2 separate regions of the Homo sapiens genome follow, and region 2 is linked to region 1. Evidence: promoter capture Hi-C in human tissues and cell types (Jung and others, 2019). All regions are on one chromosome and are shown on one strand. Each heading gives the region's core, a stretch centred on a gene start or on the middle of the fragment in contact. The rest is flanking DNA. Distances are from core to core; before and after follow the strand shown. Region 1 holds the start of BTBD8 (BTB domain containing 8). Region 2 holds the start of HFM1 (helicase for meiosis 1).

The links. Contacts are between HindIII fragments. The study calls those that stand out against the background at their distance.
Region 2: the fragment with the promoter of HFM1 here is called in contact with the fragment with the promoter of BTBD8 in region 1 in 1 of the 25 tissues and cell types used here (thymus).

What each region holds. Positions count from the first base shown.
Region 1 is chr1:92,076,865-92,084,496 of GRCh38, reverse strand. It overlaps BTBD8 (BTB domain containing 8), which reads right to left and starts at 4,152. Exons shown (of 18, transcript NM_001376131.1): 1 at 3,777-4,152. The coding sequence starts at 3,925. RefSeq lists an enhancer at 2,212-2,879. The HindIII fragment of the contact is 3,183 bases long and covers 3,263-6,445 here.
Region 2 is chr1:91,400,493-91,408,124 of GRCh38, reverse strand. It overlaps HFM1 (helicase for meiosis 1), which reads left to right and starts at 3,288. Exons shown (of 39, transcript NM_001017975.6): 1 at 3,288-3,327; 2 at 7,016-7,113. The coding sequence starts at 7,043. RefSeq lists a silencer at 3,314-3,693. The HindIII fragment of the contact is 20,002 bases long and covers 1-7,632 here.

The sequences.
Region 1 (7,632 bases), core at 2,903-5,402:
ACCCAGGGCTTCAATCCCCTTTACAGCCTGTGTTCCACAGTATGGGCCCAGGAGCTCAGATGTTCCTCACAGACAAGGAACGAATCTCTGGGATGGCGACTCCCAGATTCCCTAGCTCGCAACACACGCAGGTACATCCACCATACAGGGTCATTTTAAGTGTATGCCTACATTATTGCTATCAGGTGTGTTTGCCCTGCAAATGGTTTGAAACAATGGCAAATTTATTTTTCAAAATATATAAATTTGTGTAGAAGAGGAGTTAGATGAAAATGAGAATGAAGATGAGAAAACTACCGCACAGATGAATGAAGCCAGGAGAGGATCAATGGTGATAAAGATGGGATAAAATTAAAATATATTTACGTAATAAAATTGGCACGAGTTGGTAAAATTGGCAGGGAAGGAATAACTTGGCTCTTTCTCATATTTGGATAACTAGGTGCTAGTGATACTACCAATCTGCTAGTCAAACTCCCCTCCTCTACTCCAGACATATTTCCAGTTGTTTCCTGGATATAGCTTGCTGGACATTCATTATACACCTCCCTTTCAGGCAAGATCAGGCTTGTTCAGGGTGGTATGGTAGTAGCCTACATGTTTCCCTTTCAAATGTCCTAAGATTTGGGGCCATTTTCAATGCTTCCTTTTCCCTGTTCCCCAGCATGTCATCAGTCACCAAGCCTATCAATTGTTCCATTTCCACTGCCATTATGTATCCCTGGACTATAAAATCTCCCAGCTGGTCTCCTTGTTTCCAATTTTCCTTTCCTTAAATTCCAGATTCAAAATGTGTTAATTCCCTATTTTAAAAACACCGATGGTTCTCCACTCCTTCTAGATACATCACAAACATTTCACTGGAGAAAGAAAGCCCCTGTGATCCAGTCTTAGTCTACCCATTCACCCTTACCTACTGTCACTTTGATTGCCTGCCATGCAATCTCCTTCCGAATAAAGCTACCAAATTTATTTATTACTTATATGTGGCCCTGGTTTGTACCACATGCCCCTACATCCTAATCACATCTGAATGGACAATGGGCTAAACCAAGGTTAGCCACTGGCCAATGCAGTAATCAAGCAGGAGAACTTGAGCAAAGATGTTCTATAATAAACATGAACCAACTGATGGCACTGAAGAGCATTCTTAAGCAAATCTATGGTAGAAAAAGAAATGGGTAAGGAGAGAAGAGGAGATGAAGGTACAAAGTTAACTGGAAGATCAGTTTACTGTAGAGGAGGCAGACTGCTTGGGTTCATATTCTGGTTATGTGACCCTGGGCAAGTCATTTGAAAGTCTCTGGAGCCAGATTGCCAAGGTTCTTATTCTGACTCCACCACTTTTTTTTTTTTTTTTTGAGACAGAGTCTTGTTCTGACGCCCAGACTGGAGGGCAGTGGCTTGATCTCAGCTCACTGCAATCTCCACCTCCCCGGTTCAAACAATTCTCCTGCCTCAGCCTCCCAAGTAGCTGGGACTATAGGTGCCACCATCATTTCTTTTTTAACATTCAGTTTCCTCTTGTGTTAAATGAGAATAACAAGACTTACCTCACAGGATTCATGAGAGAAGTAAGTAAAACATTTCATGTAAGCCCAGTGTATAGCAAATAGTAGGATGGCAATAAGTATTAGTGTTTTTTTTTTACCACTGCCCTGAATAACAGTCCATTTGTCAATGTGGTCTTATTGTATGACTGTTACCATATCCCAAACAACTTTCCAGTTCTACATTGGAGCTGGCTTTTTGACAGCTAAAACTGTCTCCCACTTTTCCTCACTTCTCTACATATCTTGTCACGTCAGGTAACCTAGGAGTGTCTCTGTTCCTTACTATTTGGCAGAGTCTAATACGACTTGCTTTCTCAAAATCAATCAAGCTCTTTCAAATTTCTGTGCTTCCATAAAAGTTATTCCCCTTGTTTAGATATCCTCTACCTCTCCCTTCCCAATCTTTACCTAATCAATTCTTAACCAATCCCTAAGAGCTCACTCAAATGTCACCCTATAAAGTCTTCCCAACTCACCCCACCACAACTATCACTTTTATTTAGCCATTTCCTCTCTCACTAGAGTGTAAGGACAAACAACAAAGCAATGTTTTATTAACGTTTATTACTTAAGACCTAGTACCGGGCTAGGTACGTGGTCAGTGCTAGATACTTCATTAGTATTTGTAGAATAAATAAATGACATTGCTATGCTTGGAGAAAATTAATTTAGTATAGCATTTAAGGTGGTTGGGTGAGCATTTTGTTTTGTTTTGTTTTAAAAAAAAACCTTGCTACATCTATTTTTCTTTGTTTATAATAAGAATTTGAGAGTTCTGAGTCCTACCCTCAGTTGTAACTAAGATAAGGATAAATTGTTCACTAGCAATACTTTAACCTCATTTTCTTCATATAAATTAGATGTGTTACCCTAGAAACGTTAACAACTTTAGTATTATTTTTTCCATCTTTTTCATCAGTCCCTCCCTGGTAGAGACAAAGTAGCTTCCCCAGTAGATAGTCCCAAATTAAAGGGATTTTTTTTTTACTTTGATAAATTCTGTTTATAGCTATCGGAGCCTTAAGTATGGGTGAGTTTTTGACAGAAAGCACTTCAAAATGTAGAATCCTGGCTGGGCGCAGTGGCTCACGCCTGTAATCCCAGCATTTTGGGAGGCCGAGGCGGGCGGATCACTTGTGGTCACGAGTTCGTGACTAGCCTGGCCAACATGATGAAATCCCGTCTCTACTAAAAATACAAAAATTAGCCGGGCGTGGTGGCGCGTGCCTGTAATCCCAGCTACTCGGGAGGTTGAGGCAGGAGAATGGCTTGAACCCGGGAGGTGGAGGTTGCAGTGAGCCGAGATCGCGCCACGGCGCTCCAGCCTGGGCGACAGAGCGAGACTCCGTCTCCAAAAAAAAAAAAGTAGAATGCTGCACAACTTTTAATTATTAGTAATTATGTTTACCTCAGTGGTTCTCATAGTCACCCTAGCCAGCAGCATTAGCATCACTTGGGGCCTTGTTAGAAATGGAAAATTTCAGTGATGCCCACCCAAGTTTAAGAATCAATGTCTTGCTGGAAATGTAAATTAGCTAGGTCATATTTCTAAGCTTCAATTTCTTTGTAAGCTGAAATTACTTTAGCTGGATTCCCAATAACCCGAGAAGGATATCCATGAGGCTTACAAAGGTTAAATGTCAGGAAGACCCTCCATTTGCTTTGGTCCTCACAGGAGCTGAGAGTTGCTGGGAGCTACAGAGAGCTCTAGGTGGAGAGAGGAATCCAGGTCGCAATCAGGAAGCATTTCTGGTAAATTGTTTAAAGAGACCTCAGAAGAGACCTCCAAGACTATAGTATTGTTCTTTCCTCATTTCAAATAATCGTTTTCCTAATTTTATTATTTTTCTTAAAATAGTATAAGCTTATTTTAAAAATTGTGTAAGTTTCAGGACCTGGATCCACCCGACCTTAGTGATTGGAAACAACTAAGCGTGCCTGTGTTGAGATATTTCTAGCAAACTAGTGCTGCACACGACTAAGCTTTTTTTGTTTTCCTTTTGAATCTGGTACATGGTGTCGAGGTGCTCGGGATTGTTTATTCAGGGCGAGCGAAGCCACTTTTCGGAATAGTGGGGAGACTGGCTAACGACCCGCAGTCGCCTGAGGCGAGGAGAACCAAGTGCTGAGGGAGGGGGAGGCAGAGCCGAAAGAAGCCTCAGCTTCGGGGCGGAGGTGGGCGATTTAGGAACTGAAGCAGCCAGAGTTCCCGCCTCCTCCTACCTGAGCAAATCCTGGCTGAGCTGCTCCGACACCGTCGCCTTCAGCCGGCGCCGCTCACACGGCCCCTTCCTTTGCAACCCCTTACTGCAAACTCCAGCGGACCCCAGAAGTACCATGGGGGCCGCACTGCCTTCCCCACAGCGAGCCATGTCTCACAGAGGTACGACGCCCTGGAGGCCCAGTACTTGGCCTCACTTGCCCCGCCCAGGAGGAAGAAGGGGGCGTTTCCGACCGAACGCTCGGCTCCTACCCAAATCCGCCCCCTAGGGTAAAAGGTTGACGCCTCTCGTCGGTTTGTAGACAGTCTCCCAGAGAAGCCGGACCGCGGTGGGGAGCCTCAGAATCCCAGAACCGAGCCGGCTCTTGACCCAGGAAGAGCGTGCGCAGGCGTACTCGCTCTGTTTACTTCTGCCGGCGGGCACCCCGCCTCCCATGGCTCAGGCGCGGACCATCCCGCGGGGCAAACCAATCCTCAGGCTCCTTATCCCCTCCCCTCTTCTTTCCCTTCCGGTTGGTGTTCATTCATTTCAATGTTTTACTGAGGCTCGAGTTCAAATCAGCACATGCAGCCTTTCTATGCTGTGTCTTCCTGACAGGTCTACACTTTTTTCCAACGAAAGACTGGGCGAGTCACACCCCCTCACTTACCTGGCTTCTTAACCCTGAGGTATAAATGTTTGGGGCAAGAAAAATTGGCGATGGGAGGAGTAGGGGAAGAACTTCATAAACTGCCAGTCAGAACAATTCTGAGTTCAATATAAGAGATACTTACAGCATCTAGAAGGCCCCATCCCCTTCTTATCCAAGGAGTGGCTCATACAAGCTTTTGGACTTGATCGGAGAAAGCACAGGGCTTTGCATATAAAGCCCTAACATTTATGACCAAGAAGGGAGAAATAGGTAAGGGGCAAAGTCTTTGAGCAGTGAAGTGATGGATGGATGAAATATAGAATTCTCTTTTGTCCCAAATAAAGTAGCAAACTGATTATCATTTAAGGTTTTGGTATTTTTTATTTGATTACTGCCTCCAAAATAAGGAAACTCAGTAGTTCCGCTTCGGGCCGGGCAAGTCCCATCTACTTGGGAAGCGAGGCGGAATGATGGCTTGAGCCCGGGAGGTCGAGGCTGCAGTGAGCCATGATTGCACCACTGCACTCCAGCCTGAACAGCACAGCAAGACCCTGTCTCAAAAAAAAAAAAAAAAAAAAAAATCTGTTTCATTCACAAACTCTACACACAAGGTGAAGAATAGTAATTGCTTGGAAAATACATTGGCCAGGTTGCGGTGGCTCACACCTGTAATCCCAGCACTTTGGGAAGCCAAGGCGGGAGGATCACTTGAGCCCAGGAATTAGAGACCAGCCTGGGCAACATAAGGAGACCCTGTCTCTACCAAACAAAAAAAAAAAAAAAGGAGGCGGGGAGGGGAATATATGGACTTTGTATTTGTACCATAAGATTGGCCAAGAGGTAACCATTTCTTCAGATAATGCCCCCTCTCAAATATTCAGACATCTTAATTCTGAAAAATATAACTGGATAATTGATTTTTTAAAATTAATTCCCAAATGCTTGGATGGATAATTGATTCTTAATTATTCCTGTAGAAACGAGGGGTGTCAAAGATAACATAATAGTAGCTTATATTTGAATCCTTATTATGTGATAAACGCTACTCTATTTGCTCTGTGTGTTTTAACTCAGTTAATCCTTACAACAACCATTTAGCTAGGTACTGTCTTCAGACCTATTTACAGATGAGGAAGCTGAGGCATACAAAGGATAGGTAAACTTGGCCAAGGTCACACAATGTCATATATCACACTATAATATATGGTGTGTTACACCATAATAATGGTGTATTATAACCCAGGCAGTATTTATATTTTGACTGGCAAATTTAGTCAATTTACATATACTTTTCGTAGGAATGTAAATTGGTGCAGCCATTATGGAAAACAGTATGGAGGTTCCTCAAAAAATTAAAAATAGGACTATGACATGACCCAGCAAACCCTCTTCAGGTATATACCCAAAGGAAATGAAATTAGCACCTCATAGAGATATCTGCACTTTCATGTTTGTTGCCCCATTATTCACAATAGCTAAGATATGGAAACAACCTAACTGTCCCTAGGATAGATTAACGGATAATGTTGTATATATACAATGGAATATTATTCATTCTTAAAAGAGAAGATCCTGCCATTTGTGACAACATGGATGAAGCTGGAGGACGTTAAGTAAAATTAGCCAGGCACAGAAAGACAAATACTGCCTGACGCCTGTAATTGCAGCACTTTAGGAGGCCGAGGTGGGCGGATCATGAGGTCAGGAGATCGAGACCATCCTGACTAACACGGTGAAACCCTGTCTCTCCTAAAAATACAAAAAAAATTAGCCAGGCATGGTGGTGGGCACCTGTAGTCCCAGCTACTCAGGAAGCTGAGGCAGGAGAATGGTGTGAACCTGGGAGGCGGAGCTTGCAGTGAGCGGAGATTGCCACTGCACTCCAGCCTGGGCGACAGAGCCAGACTCTGTCTCAAAAAAAAAAAAAAAGAAAAAAGACAAATACTGCATACTCTCATATGTAGGATCTTTTAAAAAGTACATAAACAGAAAGGTGGTTGGGGGAGATGTAGGTCAAAGGGTACAAAGTTGCATTTATGTAGGATGAGTAAGTATAGAGATCTAATGTACAGCATGAGAACTATAGGTAATAATATTTGTTGTATACTAGAAATTTGCTAAGCGAGTAGATTTTAGGTGATCATACCACAAAAAAAGTAACTATGTGTGGTGAGAGGGAAAACAGTAACTGTGTGATGATGATATGTGCTTGACTATATCATTTTACTATGTATGTCAAAACATCATGTTGTATACCTTAAATATCCACATGTTAAAAAAAAAAAAATCAAAAAACCACCCAGGTAGTCTAGCACCAGACTCCCTTCAAAGCCCTGCCAGATTTCTACCAGGCCTCTTTATCACCTGATAAAGTAACAACTAGGCTACTCTCTGGTTGGAAATGGGTGACAGAATGATTCCTGGTTCATGTTTTATCTTAAAACAACTTAAGTTAGGCCGGGTTTGGTGGCTCATGCCTGTAATCCCAGCACATTTGAAGGCCGAGTCGGGCAGATCACCTGAGGTCAGGAGTTCGAGACCAGCCTGGCCAACATGGCGAAACCCCGGTTCTACTAAAAATACCAAAATTAGCCAGGTGTGGTGGTGCATGCCTGTGGTCCCAGCTACTTGGGAGGCTGGGGCAGAGAATCACTTAACTATATCATTTCACTGCAGAGGTTGCAATGAGCCGAGATCGTGCTACTGCATTTCAGCCTGGGTGACAGAGCAAGACTCCGTCTCAAGAAATATATATATAAAAATAAAAAAACTTAAGGTAGCTTAGGCGGCTATGTGAAATGATTAAAGAATGAGTAAATACTCCCTTAAAAAACAAAACATGGCTGGGCATGGTAGCTCATGCCTGTAATTCCAACACTGGGAGGTTGAGGTGGGAGGATTGCTTGAAGCCAGGAGTTCGAGGCTGCAGTAAGTTATGATCACATCGCAGCACTGCACTACTTAGCCTGGGCAATAGAACAAGACTGTCTCTAAAAAAAAAAAAACAAAAAAACTTGTCATTGATGCTTCACATTCTACCATTAGATAATTTAACTTAAAGCATTATTTTTATTTTAATTCATCTCTATAGTCATTTATCCCTTAATGTGAGTGAGGTTTTCAGATGTTCTTCCTGAAATAATTTTTGATCAGGAGGAAAAGAGAGTTTAAGGAACTAGCGGTGGGAGCTGTGAAGGTAAACGTGGCTAAACTCCTAATTTGGTTT
Region 2 (7,632 bases), core at 2,039-4,538, 680 kb after region 1:
GATCTTGCTCTATTGCCCAGGTTGGAGTGCAGTAGTGGGATCACAGCTCACTGCAGCCTGGAATTCCTTGGTTCAAGCCATTCTCCTGCCTCAGCCTGCCAAGCAGCTAGGACTACAGGCACACACCACCACACCTGGTTAGTTTTTAAAATTTTGGTAGAGATGAAGTCTCGCTGTGTTGCCCAGCCTGAGACTAATTTTTCAATATCAATTTCTACTGACTAATCAGGGTGTAAAAGATGTGGATGTTACAAAGTGAAGAAAATTTTGGTTATGTTGGATACATCAGCTAGAACTCATGGCATTGGCTGTAATAGCATTACCATATGTCCCAGCAATTCCACTCCTAGGTACATATCCAAAGGAATTGAAAGCAGGGACTTGAACGGAGATATTTACACACGAATGTTCATAGAAGCATTATTCACAATAGCCAAAAGGTGGAAATGTGGAAACAACTCAAATGTCCCTTAGCCAGGATTACAAATGGATAAACAAAATGTGGTATATAAATACAATAGAATATTATTGAGCCTTAAAAAGGAGTAAAATTCTGATCCATGCTACAACATGGATGAACATTGAAAACATTATGCTAAGTGAATAATCCAGAAATAGAAGAACAAATATTGTATGATCCCACTTATATGAAGTACTTAGGATAGGTAAACTCATAGAAATAGAAAGTAGAATAGAGGTTACCAGGAATTAGGGAAAGGGGAAAAGAAGGAGTTCCTGTTTAATGGGCAGAAATTTCTTTTTTTTTTTCTTATACTTTAAGTTTTGGGGTACATGTGCACAACGTGCAGGTTTGTTACATAGATATACATGTGCCATGTCGGTTTGCTGCACCCATCAACTCGTCATTTACATTAAGTATTTCTCCCAATGCTATCCTTCCCCCAGCCCCTCACCCCCCAACGGGCCCCAGTGTGTGAAGTTCCCCTCCCTGAATGGGCACAAATTTCTTGTTGGGGATAATGAAAAAGTTTTGGGTATGGATAAGAGTGATGGTTATACAACACTATGAGTGTATTTAATGTCCCTGAATTATACACTTATATATGGTTAAAATTATAAATATTACGCATGTTTTACCACAATGAAAGAAAGAAAGCGCGCCTTCTAGTGGGAGCTGGGTGCAGAGAGAGCTCTGTATTCTTGGCTGCAGCTGTCTAGAATGGAGCCTGTCTTGCTAAGCTGGAACTTGGGAGTCTTGGATAAAATACCACAGAGCCTTGCCTTTCTTACCAAATTTTTGTATCTCTTTCTTGAAAAGATGTTTCTTCTTTTGCTGTTTGCCCTTAGGATCATTTCCAGAGGGTCTGAGTCATTTTTCTAGAATTTTCACCAGTTTCACTGAGAAGTGAGGTAGCAAAGCTCTTTATGCAGTCATGCCAGAAGTTGACCGGGAAGACTATATTTCAAATGTTAGTTATGTTATTCAATTTGGAGGATTGCTTATGACATTGTTGCACTGGTTGTAAAATTAAATCTTTAGGATTAAAATGTTTTCTTGAGAAATGTGGCAACATTACTAAAAACCATGGTAATCCCTCCCCCCAAAATGGGATTTTTAGTAACTTTATCACTGTCCTGAGGCTTCCTTTTAAAAACTGCAGCTTTGACATTTTTATTACATTATTTTAAGAGAAAGTAAGGCTCTATAGATTCCACATGCATTCTTGAATAAATGAGTGAGTGAATGAATGAATGTTTTTGTTTATGAACATGGTGGCCATTTGCTACTGTGTGCTTTGACAGTAAGACTCCCCTGTACCTGCCTGTTGCTGAATTCTACAATTCTATCACTCAAACCCTATCTTAGTTCAAGCTGCTATAACAAATTACCATAGGCTGGGTGGCTTAAACAACAAACATTTGTCACAATTTTGGTGCCTGAGAAGTCCAAGATCACAGTGCAGGCAGATCCGGTATTTGGCGAGGGCCTCCTTCCTGGCTTGCAGATACCGTCCTCCTGTATCCTCACATGGTAGGAAAAGAGCGAGCTAACTCTCTGGCCTCTTAAAAGGGCACAATCCTACTCATGAAGGCTCTACCCTTTTGAGTTAATTACCTCACAAAAGTCCCACGTTCAAATATCATCACATCGGGGGTTAGAATTCAATGTATGAATTTCAACACATTGAGGGGTTCACTATAACAAATGCACTGTTTCGTTATTTTCCTCTATGCAGTCTATGGAAAGTAACTTTCCTCTCCAGTATTTTTGAGAGGAATGATAATTCAACCTTTCTATTAAGAATAGTTTATGCAGTCAAAATGTTATTTTCTCCAAGAGACAAAGACTTGTTATTTTATCAGTATCCAAATAACTGGCTCACCCAATTACTGGAATAATTTTACATTTCAGAGAAGGTGAAAGAAATTAATATTCATGAGCATTTACTGTGTGGTAGGACTACTGCAAATATTATTTTATTTAACCCTTGCAGCAGTATCTAGGAGTTAGAGCTTATGAGTATCACTGAGGATGCAGAATTAAGACTTAAAGGTTGGGTCTTTTCCAAGGTCATATAGCTAATGAACAGTAGAACTGCAAGAAAAAAGAGAACAGGAATAGGGCAGTCAGACAGCAGTAGGTTGGCCCTAGATGTCACAGGTGGGGGTTTCCAAAGGAAAGATAAATGTCTCTGTAAGAAAAGCATCATTGATTCGTTGCTATTTTATCATCTACAAAACATTCCCTGCCAAATCTTCAGAGGACAATTCTAAAGAAACTTAAAAGGATAATTTATAGTTTGTTCATGTTTACAGCCTAAGAACACATTATTGCCCTGTTTTTATAAATTCATGTTGGCTAAACACATTTAAATATCATTGTGTTTTAGAATATTTATTTCTGAAATTTAACTTTATTTCTGAATCAAGTTCCCCAGTAATACCGACCTCATGAGTGCCACTGTGATATTTTATAAATAATATAGGTAAAACACTTTTTAGGTACGAAGAGACCGGAAGTCCCAGAGCTGAGGCCTGGCTAACTTTGATGAGAAAGGCAGGTTGGGGTATGTTTGTGGAGTGGTGGTTGTGGGGGTAGAGAAGCAGGTTAGCTTAGGGAAAGGGTACCATTTAGTAGACCCTTAGAACCCAGGATTAGGAGCTGTATTTAAAGAGAATAGACACAGTAAACTGCAAGAGATATATTCAAAACCAGTTATAAACTTTCGGAGAAAAAAAGGTAGGAAGGGAGAGGTTGGGGGCTTGGGCGATCCATTGCTTGGAGCTCGGCTTAGCCAGGCTTGGCGGTCCTCAGAGGGGCTGATAAATCGGCGCTCGACTGGCCTAGGAGCTGTCCGCAGGGAGGTGAGGAGAGGGGCCCGGACGCCCGCGGGGAAGGTGGGGACGGGGGCCCGACGCCCGCGGGGAAGTGGGGACCCAGCCGAGCCGTCCGGGCAGCGGTCGATCTCTAGAGCCGTCTGCCGGGCAGGCAGCGGACGGGCGCGGCGAGTTGTTGGTCACCAGGCGTCTCCAGGCCGCCGGCCCGCGCCAGCGCCTCAGCCGCATTTCCAGTCAGAAAGCGGTGAGGCCTGCGGCGCGCTCGGGCGCAGGGCGGGCCCAGCTCCCCGCGAGGTGGGACCGGCTGGGCGTCCGGCCCGCCCCTAAAGTCGGCTGATTGGTGTTCGGTTCCTGTGTCTTGTGTTCCGGTGTGTGGCGCCCCCTGAGCGAGCGCTGGGGGGGACGTACCCATCTGTCTGAGCCGCGGGTTTCACAGCGGTGGGAGGAAACGGGACCCGGGGGGTGGAGTGACGCGCCCCAGCGCCCCGTTCTTGTGCCACTCTCGGGGCCCTAAGGCCTCTGCCTTGGATTTAGGATATTCTCCTTAGGAAATCCACAGAGCTGTTATTTTGCTTTAGGTGCTGATTCGGTCCCCAGCCGGACCCTTCCAGCCAGCCCTGTTGGTGCCTGGGGAGAGGGGGTGAGATCTGGGGCTCCGACAATTGTATGGTCCTTTCCCAGGCCGAGCCTCGGAGTAATTTGTTCCCGTTGATTTTTCCTTCTTTGTCAGATTCTCTGCAGTTATTTGTGACGGTCGGTTATTCCCGTAAATGTTGGTCCCTACTTCTTCCTTAACTCACAAAAATTTCTAGCAAATCAATAATTTTTATCTGAGTTTCTGTACTTTTAAAATAAGGAGTATGTTTCTGAGTAAAAATTGTAAGAAGTAATAGGCCTGCAATTTTATACAATAAGTTTATACAATAATTGTATACAATAATTTTATACAATAAGTAAAGATTACAGAAGACAAAATGGTGAATTGTCATTAATATAACTAAAGATTAATTGTATCTAGTTGTATTAATATTTAACTAGAGATTGTCATTAATATAACTAGAGAAGGTCGGCACCGCAAATTATGTAGACTCAAAAATAGCTTAAGTATTTTAACAGTGATTATAGCAGAGCAGACACTTAAAACTACCTGGGATGATATTGTTTATTGTGTTTGGCAATCTAATTTTGTGCCACGTGCTGAAACTAAAACTTTAATAATAAATAATAGGAACTTAAAAAATCTGAATCTAAACCTAGAACTTTAATTAATTTAAAATAGCATCCCCTCACATCACAAACTCATACTGAACTGTAGCAAGGTCCCTTTTAGGACCTGTGTTTCTTTTTTAAAAAAAGATTTACATAATGAAAGTGCCAAATTCATCATCTTTTAGAACCTTCATGATTTTATTTACATAAATCCTGAACTAGAAAAAAATTTCACATTTTTTAACTGAACGTTGAAGATTGGGGCTCAAATTTTAAGTTTCTAAATTAACAGAAAATTATTTTTATTTGACACTATTTTTATAAACTGGTTCTTGCTAATGCATTTATTCCACAATGCATTCTTATGGACCATTTACTGTGTGCCAGGCACTATTCTGGGTTATTGGAACACATTAATGAGCAAAAAGTCCCTGCTTGCTCTAAAGGGAGAAACATAATAAACAACTAAGCATATACTATAATGTTAGTTATCAGTTCATGCTATGAAGAAAAATAATGCGGAATGAGAGGATGCAGTTTTAGATAAGGGGTGTTTTTTCACAGGAGTATATAAGAACTAAAATATGTACATGATATTTTTATTCTGAACCCAAACAAGTTATATTCTTGTATGCTAGAACTAGAAATCAAAAATTCTTTTGAAAATATTTGCTGTTTGTATAGGAGGTTTTTGTCAGTTTATGCAACGCTTTTCTTCCCAAATGTTTTAAATTTGTAGTTTTGTTGTCTATTTGTAGTTGCTTTAGGAAGAAAGTATTCAAGTGTATAAATGTTAGCCTTAAGATTTTTGACTTAAATTCTGAGGTAGCAAAGCCATATGAAACTGGTCTGGTGAGGTTTATTTTAGGAAAAGTTTCTTTTGTTTGAACATAGTTTTCCTAAAACTAGAAAGGGAACATTTTATTTGTTACTTTTTGGGCAATATAAAAACATGATTAACATTTTCATTTATACTTTTTCAGATAATTGTTTTCAAGTTCTGAAATTGTTTACTTAAAGCTGTTAAAGACTTCGCATATTTCTGAATGACTCCCTCTACCTCCTGCCCTATTATCCTAGGCTTCTATTTTTCGTATAGTCAAATTGTTTTAGACATTTATAGAACCACACTAGTTTGTTTCATTTTTACTACTTGTTTTTGTTGGTAACTGATTAATAGATAGAGAAAAATGAAGAGGGCAATTATATTAAACAGATGGAAGGGGGAAGAACCCAATAACGAAAACAGTGAAAAACCCCACAATATTCTATATCAGTAAGAACAGCCCTGAAGTATATATACAGGTTTAGTTCTCATACAGTAGCATTTGTCAAGTGTTGTATGTGGAAACATTCTCCCTTCCCCATATCACTCCCACTTGTATCTCATCCCCACATCAAGGAGGATTCAAAATTGGAGAGACATAATCTGACTTGGTAATGCGTATTTCTCCACTAGATGGCATTAATAGAATTTCTTTGATTGTAGTTTCTATCTTGAGGACAAATTTACAATGTATTAACTAAAACAGAAGAAACAGAAATGTGATTTATGTTTTACAGTTTGTTCGTCTGATTTTATGGTTTGTCATATAGAATGTTCTATGATGTTTAAGAATTTAGAAAAAAATAGGATATGCAGGGAAAAATAATTCTAATGGGAGCAATGTATGTATCTAGAGACTAGTTTTTTTTTTTAATCACATTTGCATCTTTGTTCAGCCCCAGATTTTTGTTATGTTCAAAGGTGGCCAATGCTGAATGTTTTTATCCTTTATGTTTAGATAATATCTCTGAGTGCAAAAATTATCTTTTAAAAAAGAATGTAAACGTGTGTAGTATATGCATTAACTCATATAAATAAATATGCATATGTATGTTAAACTTGTAATTTTTTTATTTTGAAAAAGTTCAAACCTATGAAAAAATATTATAATGAACCCCATGTACCTATTACATAGCTTTAGCTTTGATCAACTCATTGTCAATATTATTTCAATACTCCTTCATCTCTCCCCTTTATTTTGAAGCAAATCCCTGCATATGTACATAGTATATTGTTAGAGGTGCACACATTCACAATAAAATGTGCTGTCCTAACTTGAAAATAATGGTGTGAACAAAGTATTAAGAGCCCAAGAAGACTGATTAATTCTGCCTTGAGGAAGAAGACAAATTCAGAAAAGCCTTTGAAGAAGAAATGACATTTGACCTATAACTTGAAGGATGGTTAGGAATTTGCCAGTTGGAGAATGGCAGAAAACACATTCCAAGCATTGGAGCACTATGAAGAGAAGGGAGCAAGTGTGAATCCATGAATGAATGGAAAACAGAGAATAATGTATGTGAATATTGAGGTGCTTTGAAGGAAGTTGCAGACGATGAAGCTGGAAGGATAGTCTGTGGTTATATTTTACAGGAGACTGTGGAAAATTAGTGATTATACAGAAATATTTTTTTACATCTTTATAAATAAAATATAAACTACTTTTTCCATATTTTGTAGATTTATGACAAAGTCCAGTTTTCAACAATGCTGAAATCAAATGATTGCCTGTTTTCTTTGGAAAATTTGTTTTTTGAAAAACCAGATGAAGTTGAAAAGTAAGTCTCCCTTAAAGATTGATAGCATAGTATATTACTTTAGGGTTTTTTGAATTTGGGTGAGTTTTAGCTTTCTCTCTGGTAAATATACAAATAAAAATGAGGAATCAACAGAACGATATTTCAGTTACATATTTGGTAAACATGGAATTCTCTTACCAGTAGTATAGGGGAGTAACTGAAGTTTAACATCTTAAATGTTATAATTTTAAAAATAGAATAGATTTGGGCCAGGCGCAGTGGCTCACGCCTGTAATCCCAGCACTTTGGAAGGCTGAGGCGGGTGAATCACCTGAAATCAGGAGTTCAAGACCAGCCTAGCCAACATGGTGAAACCCTGTCTCTACTAAAAGCACAAAAAAATTAGCCAGGCCTGGTGGCGCATGCCTCTAATCCCAGCTACTTGGGAGGCTGAGGCATGAGAATTGCTTGAAGCCCGGAGGCGGAGGTTGCAGTGAGCTAAGGTGGCGCCACTGCACTCCAGCCAGAGCAACAGAGTGAAACTCTATCAAAAGAAAA